Linked DNA regions of Homo sapiens: regions 2 and 3 are each linked to region 1. The links are contacts of gene promoters, found by promoter capture Hi-C in blood cells and fetal thymus (Javierre and others, 2016). All regions are on one chromosome and are shown on one strand. The core of a region is centred on a gene start or on the middle of the fragment in contact, and the rest is flanking DNA. Distances in the headings are between cores, read along the strand shown.

Region 1 (3,462 bases), core at 1-2,500:
TTGTTTTTTTGTTTTGCTTTTTTTTTTTTTTTGAAACAGGGTCTCGCTCTGCCACCCAGGCTGGAGTGCAGTGGCACAATCATAGCTCACTGCAGCCTCGACTTCTTGGGCTCAAGAGATCCTCCCACCTTAGCCTGTCGAGCAGCTGGGACTACAGGCATGCGCCACCACGCCCGGCTAATTTTTTTGATATTTAATAGAGATGAGGTCTTGCTATGTTGCCCAGGATGTTCTAACTCCTCAAGTGATCCTCCTGCCTCAGCCTCCCAAAGTGCTGGGGTTACAGGCGTGAGCCACCGTGCCCAGCACATGTCTTCTAAAAGCTGCTGTTTCTTCCTTTTTCAGGAGTTCTTTCCCATACTGTTCTTCTGGATGACTCCTCGTCATCCTTCGGATCTCAAATGAAAGGTCATTTAGAGAGGCTTGGCCTGACCATACAATTCAATTAGTTTCTTACCCCTTTAGTCTCTCTCATAGACCCTGTTATTTTCCTTCATCTCATTTATCACAAGTCTTCATATATTTATTGCGTTGGATACATTCAATTCTGTCGATTTTCTTAGAATGTAAGGTTTCCAAGGGAAGGGACTTCGTTTTGTTCACTTTTGTATTCCTAGAACCTAGCACAATGCCTGACACATAGCAGGTGTTCCATAAATATCTGCGGACTGACTGTCTATTTCACTTATCCTTGTTCCTTGTACTGCATTTCAGTTCTCGCTACTGCAGTGTAACCTCCAAGAGACAGGAGAAAATCATAATACCCCCCTCCCTCCATCACTGAGTGATACTGAGACGGCGTCCTTGCACGTTTGAGCAGCTGCTGCCTTCTCCTGGGAGGCTGTCAAGTACCCCAAGGTGCACAATAATTCTTTTAGTAATTGCCTGACTGAGGCAAATCAGTAGAGCTGTCAGAAATGCTTTCAAACTTAACATTCATTGGGTTCTTGGGCACCTGAAATTGCAAACAATTGCATTACAATTAAGTGAGAATTAGCAGAATGTTACAGTTCTTTAACAATTTGCGTAACAAACCGAGGCGTCCTACGCCATCTCGCTGAAATGAAATTCGGATGTAGACACCCTTGCGCTTCAGGACTCTACGCTCTTGCAGCAGCTCCTCTGCCCAATGGGGGGCGGCAGCATCTCAGTAACTCACTCGAAAGACGGGTAGGCGGGAGGAGACATTCGCGTTCAAAATCTTTTTGCCTCTATCCGCTCGCCGTAGCGCTTTAGCCCGCTCGAGTTTCAATGCGCGTTGTTGCTTAACGAAGCAGAGTCCTACACACTGTCTGCTGCTCTCCTGATCATGGCTTCTCCGAGTTCTTTCACCTACTATTGCCCTCCATCTTCCTCCCCCGTCTGGTCAGAGCCGCTGTACAGTCTGAGGCCCGAGCACGCGCGAGAGCGGTTGCAGGACGACTCGGTGGAAACAGTCACGTCCATAGAACAGGTGAGGTGGCAGGACTGGGCGAGGCGCCCGCGCGATGTGTTCTGGGAGCGCGAGTCCCGTTCGTAGGGCCGCCCGGGTGCGGAACTCACCGGGGAACTACGACTCCCACAGCGCACCGCGGTGCCTTTCCTCTGGGAAGCTCCGGGCGCCCAGGCTTGGGCTTCGTCGTGGAGCGTTTGCGCGGCCAGCTTGGGGAAGGGTCGTTTCAAGGTTGGGCTTGGAGGAGAGGGCAGTAGCCGAGTCCCCTCTGCCCTAAAGAACGAGAAGAATCGTGTTCTATGCCTGGAGGACAGAGGCAGCCCGTGCGGGTCGGACAGCCCACTCTGTTCTGCCAGTACTTCGGGAGGTTCTGGGGTGCATAGTGCACTTTTCCCAACCTGCCCTCAGCTTCTGGAGGCAGAGAGCAGGGCCAGGCTGCTGTCATGCCGTTTCACGATCTGTTTAATTTTTGACCTACAGTGCCAGGTTTGGGGGCCCGCCTCGTGGGTGGGCATTTTGGTAGTCATTCAGCCATTTGAGCACCAGCTACGTGTCGGACACAATATTAAACGATGGAAGTACAAGGAAATAAAACAGCTCCTGACCAGGAGCCTGGTTGGGGGACAGGCAGGAAAACAGTTTGGAAAGTGATCTAATAGAAAGAATGGATTTTGGACTACTAATCATTCCCTAAGGCCTAGAAGTAGGATCGAACCTATCATTTTGAAAAGTGTTTGGCGAATGAGTATATATTCATATGCCCAAAACCATAGTTTTGTTTTTCTTCTTATTCCCTAATTGGAATTGTTCCCAAGGTTGCTATGTGGAACTGTTTATCCATCTGTCCCTAGGAGAAGTGGTTAGGATAATTCTTAACACTAATAAATGAACATTCTGCTGCTTACTGAAATAAGATCTCTTAGTGAGATCAGTCTCCAGGCTTTACCTTGGAGAGACCTGTTTTGTATTTCCTACTTTAAGTTGGAAGCCTGTACTTTGGCAAAATTAGTAACAATAATTGTTTTATTGTACAGTTATGACTAAATAGAATTATAAATTTATAACAGAAACAAGGGCTTGATACGTGGTTATTCACAAAGTAGCAGAGAAAATATTTTAACTGGAGATTTAAACTTCATGGAATTTAGGGTAGCAAAGGAAATCCTCACCTCTCGAATCTAGCTAATTCTCCAGGTTGGTTTGCCTACCAGTGTGTCCCAGGGAAGGCTGACTGCAAAAGATTGTAAAGAAATTTCCCATTGATGAAAAACCTACAGGATCTTTGCAGAATTCCTAAATGATGGATTGCTGAGTTGATTCAGGTCAAGTGTTTTACTTATTATCTGACCTTAGACTATGGGATTGCCTTTTTTTTTTTTTTTTTTTTTGAGATGGGGTCTCGCCCTGTTGCCAGGCTGGGATGCACTGGCTTACTGCACCCTCCGCCTCCCGGGTTCACGCCATTCGCCTGCCTCAGCCTCCAGAGTAGCTGAGACTACAGGCGCCCACCACCACGCCTGGCTAATTTTTGTATTTTAGTAGAGACAGGTTTCACCATGTGGCCAGGCTGGTTTTGAACTCCTGACCTCCAGTGATCTGCCCTCCTCGGCCTCCTAGAGTGCTGGGATTACAGTCGTGAGCCACTGCTCCTGGTGCGAGTATCTTTCAAATCTAGACCCAACGGTATGGCAGACAGTAAAGAATCTTATATTTCTTTTTCATGTTGTTATTCCAGCACACATTATTAGAGTCTAGGATGAACAGTTTCAGGTAGTAGGATGATAATGTTGTATCTCATTTTTGTGGCCTTCCTCACTGTTTTAATAATCATGTTAGTGACCATTTATTGAGTCTCAGCACAGTGCTAAATGCTCTCCATATGTGGTATCATTCAATCCTTTCACTTTTTATGGATGAGAAGACTGAGGTTTAGAGACCTACCACATTGGTAGGTTAATGATACATTCATCAAAAGTAACAACCTTGTTAGGAGGAGTTGTTTACAGAGGATATACTAGTACTCTTTCAGT
Region 2 (3,462 bases), core at 341-2,840, 1.4 Mb before region 1:
ACGTTTGGAATTTGGAAGTCTTCTTTGGTTTTCTTTAAAAAAAAAAAAGTTTTTAAAAATCTACCTAATTTAGCCTTAATATAATGTGATGGATTCAAAATAGAATCACAAACTATGAATGACTATAGATGTTAAGATCACTTTAAAATATCAAAATGACTGCATCAGCCAAAAGCTCCACATCTTATTTGTACGTTGTAAATTTAGGGGCCGATTTTCCATTCGGGTATGTGAATTATTTAGACTTCACTCTAACTCTAACACTACAACATTTCAGTAAATCCTCTTCCTCCATCACTCTTTTCGTCTCTTCTTTATTCCTTATCTCTCATCTCTACAGACGATATATAGGTAGCTTTTAAAAAAATCATTTACCCCTTATGCCCGAGGCCCAGAATAAACGTCAAGGATCGCAACCCTGAAGCACTGCAAAACTGAACGTAAGGTAACAGCGGGTCCGTGCAAAGCCCAGGGAAACAGGTTTCGCCCTGGGCCAGGGCTCCCGAAGCTTTATCATCCTCTAATCAGCAGGCATGGGGCATTTCCATGGCTCAGGATAATCCAAAGGGGGTAAGGGGAAGTAGGGAAAGACAGGGAAGGGGTTTGTCTGTGGGGATGCTTACATACTCCCTTTGCTCCTAACCCACACCCCAAGCCCTGGAGACGATAAGCTGCTAGAGAATCCTCCTCACACCAAACCCCTCTTTATTCCCCGCCCCCGCCAGTGGATAAAGGGGGGCAAGAAAACGCCTCCAATCCCAGAAGGTGGAGAAAAAGGGGGGAGGGGGCAGAGTGAATGAGAGGTATCATCAGAAGCATTTGTAGGTAAATCAGACAAGTGGGACGGGCGCTCCCGCTCCCGCACCCCACCCCACCGCACCCCTCGCCTGCCCGGCCAGGCCTTCCCAAGGCCGGTGCCCCATAGGTTCCCCAGGAGGACCGGGAGGAAGAAGGGAAGCGGGCGAGCCGCGGTGCTGGAGGGACTAAGTTACCTTGAAGCTTCTGGGGAAGAATCCAAAGATGATCTGTGGCTTGGAGGGGCGGGAGACGGGCGAGGTGGCCGCAGCGGGGGCGGGCGGCGGGACCGGGACGTGCAGGGGGAGGTCCGGGCAGCTGCGGGGAGCCTGGGGCGACGGCTGTCCGGTACGGGGTCCCTCCGGTTCCGCGGCGGCGGAGCCTCTAGGCCTCACGGCCGGACCCGAACCTCAGCGTTCCGGTGGCGGCGGCGGCCTCACGATCCTCCCCCGCGGGCCCGTCCCATCAAATCGGCACCGACCCCGTTGCGGCTCCGCCGGTGGCTCCTCGCTCACATTCCTGGCGGGCGGCGCCTCAGCTCGTTGCCCCGGACCCGGCGGCGGCGGCGACGACGTGGGGAGGGGGGGAAGGGAGGGAGGAAGACTGGATCTGCAGCGGCAGCAAGAGAAGGGGACAGAATAAGGAGGAGGAGCCGCAGGAGCTGGAGCCGCCGCTGCCAGAGCCACCTTTCGCTACCCGCGGTGGGTCCCAGTCAATGCCCCTTTCTCTCTCCTATTGTCAATATCACCGGGCGGCTGAGTCCATGGCACACGCGCAACCGAACCTTCTGGCCAGCAGCGCCCGCCTCCGGCGCCCGCCCACTGGAGACTTCAAACGGGAAGCGAGGCCTCATTGGCCAGTATCCGCCTTCACTCCCCTGACAGCATGTTCGGCTGAGACCTGATCAGGGATTGGCGGCAGGAGGGCGGAGAAACGGGAGGGTGGGAAGAGAGAAGGTCGAGGATTGGGCCGAAGCTTGAGGAACCCGGATGCAGCCGCGATCTCGGGCGGTGCAGCCGCCGCTTCCGCCCGGCAGTGGGGCAAGCTGAAGTGAGAAGCCGCTGGGCCTGAGAGGAGCTCTTTAATTCCGGGAGGTGTGCGACTAGCGGATCAGCGGGCTGGCTTTCCGTGCTGTGCGGAGCCTTTGGGCGGCGGTCGTCTTGGACCGGAGGATTCCAAGGGCTCGGGTCGTCTAAGGGTCGGGGAGCCCCGGAGACTTGATCCCGCCCTGCAGCTAGTGTGGCCCCTCAGGGTTTGGGGAGTCCCACTCTGGACGGGACCCTGTGATGCGTAGGCAGGAATAAGATCCCCCGCCCGTGCCGGTGTGCCACTGCTTGTGTAAATGGGCCCCTTGAAACCCCCAGCAGTCGCTCTCCGCTGAACCTTCTTCGAATTTTCTCTCACCTCATCTCCTTTTCCTTAAACGTCTGTTTTGAATATCAGACCCCTGTAGCGTTGAAGCCAGCGCTCGTTTAATTAATGCAGGTGGGAACGCTGTCGCCACAGTTTGCAGTCTATTCATTCAGAATAACCCGCCAGTCAGCCGACTGCTCAGAGCTCGGAAAGACCCAGCTCCAAACTAGGAGTTTCGAGATTTTAATTGGCAAGTTGGACCCGAAAGAGTTAATGGAGAAGACTACTTAAATCTATCTAGAACAAGTGATGAGATATTTGGAGATGTGTTTGCATGCTTGGTGAATGCAGACGGCCAAATGGTACATTTCCAGATAATATTCTTGGATTAATGTATTTGAATGCACCCTACGTACATTTTTTGAGAGGAAAAAAGGAAGAAAGAAATTATTAATGCTAACTACAAACGTCAGAGTACCAGTTGTTCAAAACTTAGAAATTGGGGGGGGGGACAAAAAAATTAACATTCTTATTTTCTCAACTCAGAGATAACCACTTACAGTATTTGCATACTTCCTTTTAGTATTTTTTCTCTTTATGTTAATAATGTGTGTCGATCTGTAGCCTAGTTTTTTCCCTCAGCATTATATCATCTTTTCGATACGGTTAGGGAATAGAGCTATATATAAATAAAACTATATGTACCATATGTACAAGTGACAACGAAAAATGCATTTGCATTTCTCCTGTTTGTGTTGTTAAACACTAGAGTTTTGAAATTTTCTTTGCACACTCCCAGAAATGGCTCTTGAGTGGAAAAATAATTTTGTGCCATGAAAGATAAAAATATTCCTGCTTTGAACTGAAATGGAAAACGAAAAGATGACTCTTAGATGGAAGCAGTCTCCCCCTACTGACTCCAGATGATTGGCCACTGTATGGCTAGTGCCCACTTTTGCCGTGATAAAGTTCATCACCACTAAGTATGAACTATAGAATACCAGCAGTCTAGTTCCTACCCTCAAGAACCTTAAATTTTCCATATCTCAATATCCTGTACAGTCTTCATGAAAGTTCAGTGTCCCAGCCAAGGACCTGTTTTCTTCAATCTTTGATTGAGGGTAAATTCAGAATTAAAACCAAGGAAGATTTTGAAGCCAATTCAATTTCCCTTGGCAACAGTTGAACTGTTAAAAGCATAGTGCACGTTTGAAATTCTCACAGCTGTTGCTTAGAACATGTCATAGAGTGGGGATTTTGCTTGCAAATTATGGATCTCTATAAAGACAATTCATTTCAAAGTCATTTCACTTT
Region 3 (3,462 bases), core at 277-2,776, 1.1 Mb after region 1:
AGAAGCTCAGAGGCTTTTCTAGCAAGTGAGAGCCAGCCTAAAAGGCCTATCCAACATACTAACACCTGATGGCAGGAAAATTTTACTCCCAGCCTCATCACTAAAGTGGTCACAATTCAAATGACCTGTTAGGTAGTTTTAGGTCCTCCACTTTATTAAAATAATGAATACTTGATTTATGCTTTATAATTAACCAAGCACTTTCCATCACAAAACATTTCTCACAATAACCCTGTCAAGGAGTGGGAGTGATCCATTTTATAAATAAACCGAGCAAGGTTACCCAGGGCCTGAAAGACCTCACTTTCAGAATTCCATTCATTTTTTCCTTTCGGACAATTTCCATGAGATCAAATGCCCCCCACCTACCAATTTACCCAGACTTGTATAGCTCCTTCTTTTCATTCAACAAAAATGTACTAAATAGCACAGGGGCTGAGCTAGGCCTCCGGAGCACAGGAAATCCCAGTGGCCAAAACATCATGTTTGATTCTATAGGCTATCAAGCTGCCAGTTTTCCTCCGATATGGATTCTGATTCTACTACAATTAGTACTTCCCAATTTAAAAATGATGGCAGTTGTCATTCATTAAGCACACACTAAGGGCTAGGCTCTGTGGTAAACAACCTACAAATGCGATTTCATTTAAAGCTTTGAGTCTATGTCCCTTAACCCCAGACAGAGCTCATGGTCAGAAACCATATGCTGCCAACACAACACTTTTTCCTTTTTTTTTTTTTTTTTGAGATGGAGTTTTGCTCTTGTTGCCTGGGCTGGAGTGTAGTGGCGCGATCTCGGCTCACTGCAACCTCCACCTCCTGGATTCTCTTGCCTCAGCCTCCCTAATAGCTGGGATTACATGTGCCCGCCATCAGGCCCGGCTAATTTCTTTTGTATTTTTAGTAGAGACAGGGTTTCACCATGTTGGCCAGGCTTGGTCTTGAACTCCCGACCTCAGGTGACCCACCCACCTCAGCCTCCCAAAGTGCTGGGATGACGGGTGTGAGCCACTGTGCCTGGTAAACACTTTTTATAATAAAGGGAGCAAGCTTTCCTTTTCCCCATTGAATCCCACCCTTTCACAACCTCAGTGAAACTACTCCCGGTAGTGAGACACGTTCCAGTTGTCTGACTTGGCAGCATGATTCCTCCAGGGTAGCTCTTCCACTGTATTTCTGCTTCACACCCATCAGCATCATGGGCAAGGGTCTCTCCAGCAAAGGGTGGTTAAAGAAGGCCAAGTTTCATTTCGTAGCTTAGACAAAACAAACCTCTGGCACATAAACATTGGATTCCTGTTGGTCAGGCCAACGAGACCCAGGAAGACTTAGAGTGATATTCCCTGGCACCCATGTCTCTCAAAGGTCTCCCCTAATATCCCCAATATACCAGGAAGGCATAAAGGAAGGAAAAGATGTCTATCAGAGAGAAGCAGAGCTCCAGAAGACAATTGTTTACCTTGCGTTGCTTTTCAGCGTAGGGACCTCAGTGCGGCAGCAGCATCCTCATCACCAGGGAGCTGGTTAATAAAGCGGAAACTCCAGCTGCACTCCAACCTCCTCCATCAGAGCCTGTGCGCTAACATTTTCAGGGGAGTGGAATACACGTTGGAGTTTGAGAGGCACTGAGTTAGAACACGTGGGGAGAGACTACAGTGTAGTGCTGTGGTTCTCAAGGTATGGGGCCCCAGAGACCAGCAGCATCGGCATTACCTACTTTGAAAACACAAATTTTTGAGCCCCACCCCAGGCCAATTGAATCAGAAGCTCTAGGGGTGGGCCCTCACCATCTGTGTTTAACAAGCCCTCCAGGTGATCCTGATGCATGCTAAAGTATGAAAAGCCCTGGTATAGACAATCAGTTTTCCAAGCCCTGGCTCCCCTACTTCTGACTCATCCCTTAGGCTGCACTCTTGGCTGACATTTGGGGGAATGGAAGGAAGGCCTTGTATACTTGGTTTTCCCCCTTCCATTTGATTTCCCTGGGGACGGTTCTTAAAACTCAAGCTTCTGAACAAAAAGTCTGTCTTGCTTGTGATTTAATCCTTCATTTGCATTGCCAACAACTAATGGGAAGAAAGAAGTTCCAGGAGACCAACTGGCTTTTTAGTACTGCATTGTATATGATCAGAAGCAGGCCTGGGAATGGAAGACTCAGGTTTCCCAGCCCAAGAATAAACAAGGGCATGAAGCCACAAGGAAGGGGGGCTTTGGTGGGGCTCTCCCAGGTCACAGGCTGGGGGTGTGGGTGGGCATGTACACAACACTGGCACAAGATAGAGCCAGATGGGAGAGAGTATCTACACAGACAGAAGAGGCAAGAACGTGTGGATACCCTCCTAGTCCACAAAATCCGAGAATTGTCAGCTGTCAGACAACAACACAGTCCACCTCCCACTCTGATCAGTACCACACCTACATCTCTCCAGACTGAGGACCTCCGTTTCTTCAGTCTGTGGTGGTGCCCTCACCACCCGCTGATATTAAAAGAAAGAGCACAATAGTGTCCATCCATTCATTCAACAAGTCTTTGCTGAGACAGGCCTAGATGCCAGACACAACGCCAGGTGCACAAAGACACGACTCCCAACTTCAAGGAGTGTACATTCTAGTGGAGGAGATAAGCCTCAATTTTTTAAGTATATAGTCACCACAACATGTGGCCATGTTGGGGGATTGTGTGACAGGGAACCTGGCTTAGTCTCAGGTCAGTGAAGGCTCCTTTAAGGAAGGAGACTGTTGGAGTTTGGGTTCTGAAGAATGCACAGGAGTTAACTAGGCAAAGGCAAGTGTTCATGGTGGTAAGGAGAGCATCACAGGCAAAGAAAAAGGACATGAGCTGAGACAGAGCATGGCAAGTTTAAGGATCAGAGAAAAGCACCATAAAGAGACTCAGGTCATGACAGAGGGAGGTGGCATCAGATGGGCACAGAAGTGGTGGGCAGGACTAGGCCACAGGTTTGTAAAGCTTTGAGTGTTTATCCTAAAAGTGATGAGGAGCCTTCAAAGGATTTTAAGTAGGAGAGTATCAGGGACAGATTTCCATGTTGTAAAGCTTACTCTGGCTGTGCCATGGAGAGGGAAGTGCTGATTCAGGAGTATAAGCAACTATGAAGCTGTTGCAGTTGTCCAGGGGCCTAGGACCAAGTGCTGGTGGTAGAGGTGAGCAGAGGAGTGCAGATCAAGGAGAGACTTGGATGACATCCTTAGGCTTTGGATATGGATTGGACATTGGTAAGGTGTCCAGGGAATCTCTTAGTCACTAGGCTGGGCTGAAAATGGAGTGAGAGCTGGACAGGAAGAGAGGCAGTCACTTAGCTACAGATGTAGAAGAGATGCACCCAGAAAGAACACATGATGAAAACTAGGACAGTCTGCAGGGAGTAAGACTCACTTAGCAGTTAATTAAAGTAGGTGTCCAAACAGCTCTCAGTTATTTGCGTTATCCAATGTGTTAATTAG

What was found. Contacts are between HindIII fragments. The CHiCAGO score rates a contact against its expected background, and 5 or more counts as called.
Region 2: the fragment with the promoter of PPP2R5E here is called in contact with the fragment with the promoter of FNTB in region 1 in 2 of 17 cell types (fetal thymus and total CD8 T cells); the score reaches 7.3 in fetal thymus.
Region 3: a fragment that was not itself captured here is called in contact with the fragment with the promoter of FNTB in region 1 in 7 of 17 cell types (naive B cells, fetal thymus, naive CD8 T cells and 4 more); the score reaches 10.0 in naive B cells.

What each region holds. Positions count from the first base shown.
Region 1 is chr14:64,985,645-64,989,106 of GRCh38, forward strand. FNTB (farnesyltransferase, CAAX box, subunit beta) reads left to right here and starts at 1,251. Exons shown (of 12, transcript NM_002028.4): 1 at 1,251-1,453. The coding sequence starts at 1,310. All of the region lies in intron 3 of CHURC1-FNTB (CHURC1-FNTB readthrough), which reads left to right. LOC107984655 (a long non-coding RNA gene) reads right to left here and starts at 1,469. Exons shown (of 2, transcript XR_001750792.2): 1 at 1,036-1,469; 2 at 1-955. The HindIII fragment of the contact is 3,816 bases long and covers 1-3,462 here.
Region 2 is chr14:63,541,787-63,545,248 of GRCh38, forward strand. It overlaps PPP2R5E (protein phosphatase 2 regulatory subunit B'epsilon), which reads right to left and starts at 1,591. Exons shown (of 14, transcript NM_006246.5): 1 at 993-1,591. It overlaps LOC112268140 (loricrin-like), which reads left to right and starts at 998. Exons shown (of 1, transcript NR_158218.1): 1 at 998-2,878. RefSeq lists silencers at 1,087-1,226, 1,267-1,406 and enhancers at 1,643-2,634, 1,697-1,906, 2,994-3,073. The HindIII fragment of the contact is 771 bases long and covers 998-1,768 here.
Region 3 is chr14:66,065,634-66,069,095 of GRCh38, forward strand. No RefSeq gene overlaps it. Among named protein-coding and RNA genes, the nearest start is that of LINC02290, 44 kb to the right of the region's middle. The HindIII fragment of the contact is 957 bases long and covers 1,049-2,005 here.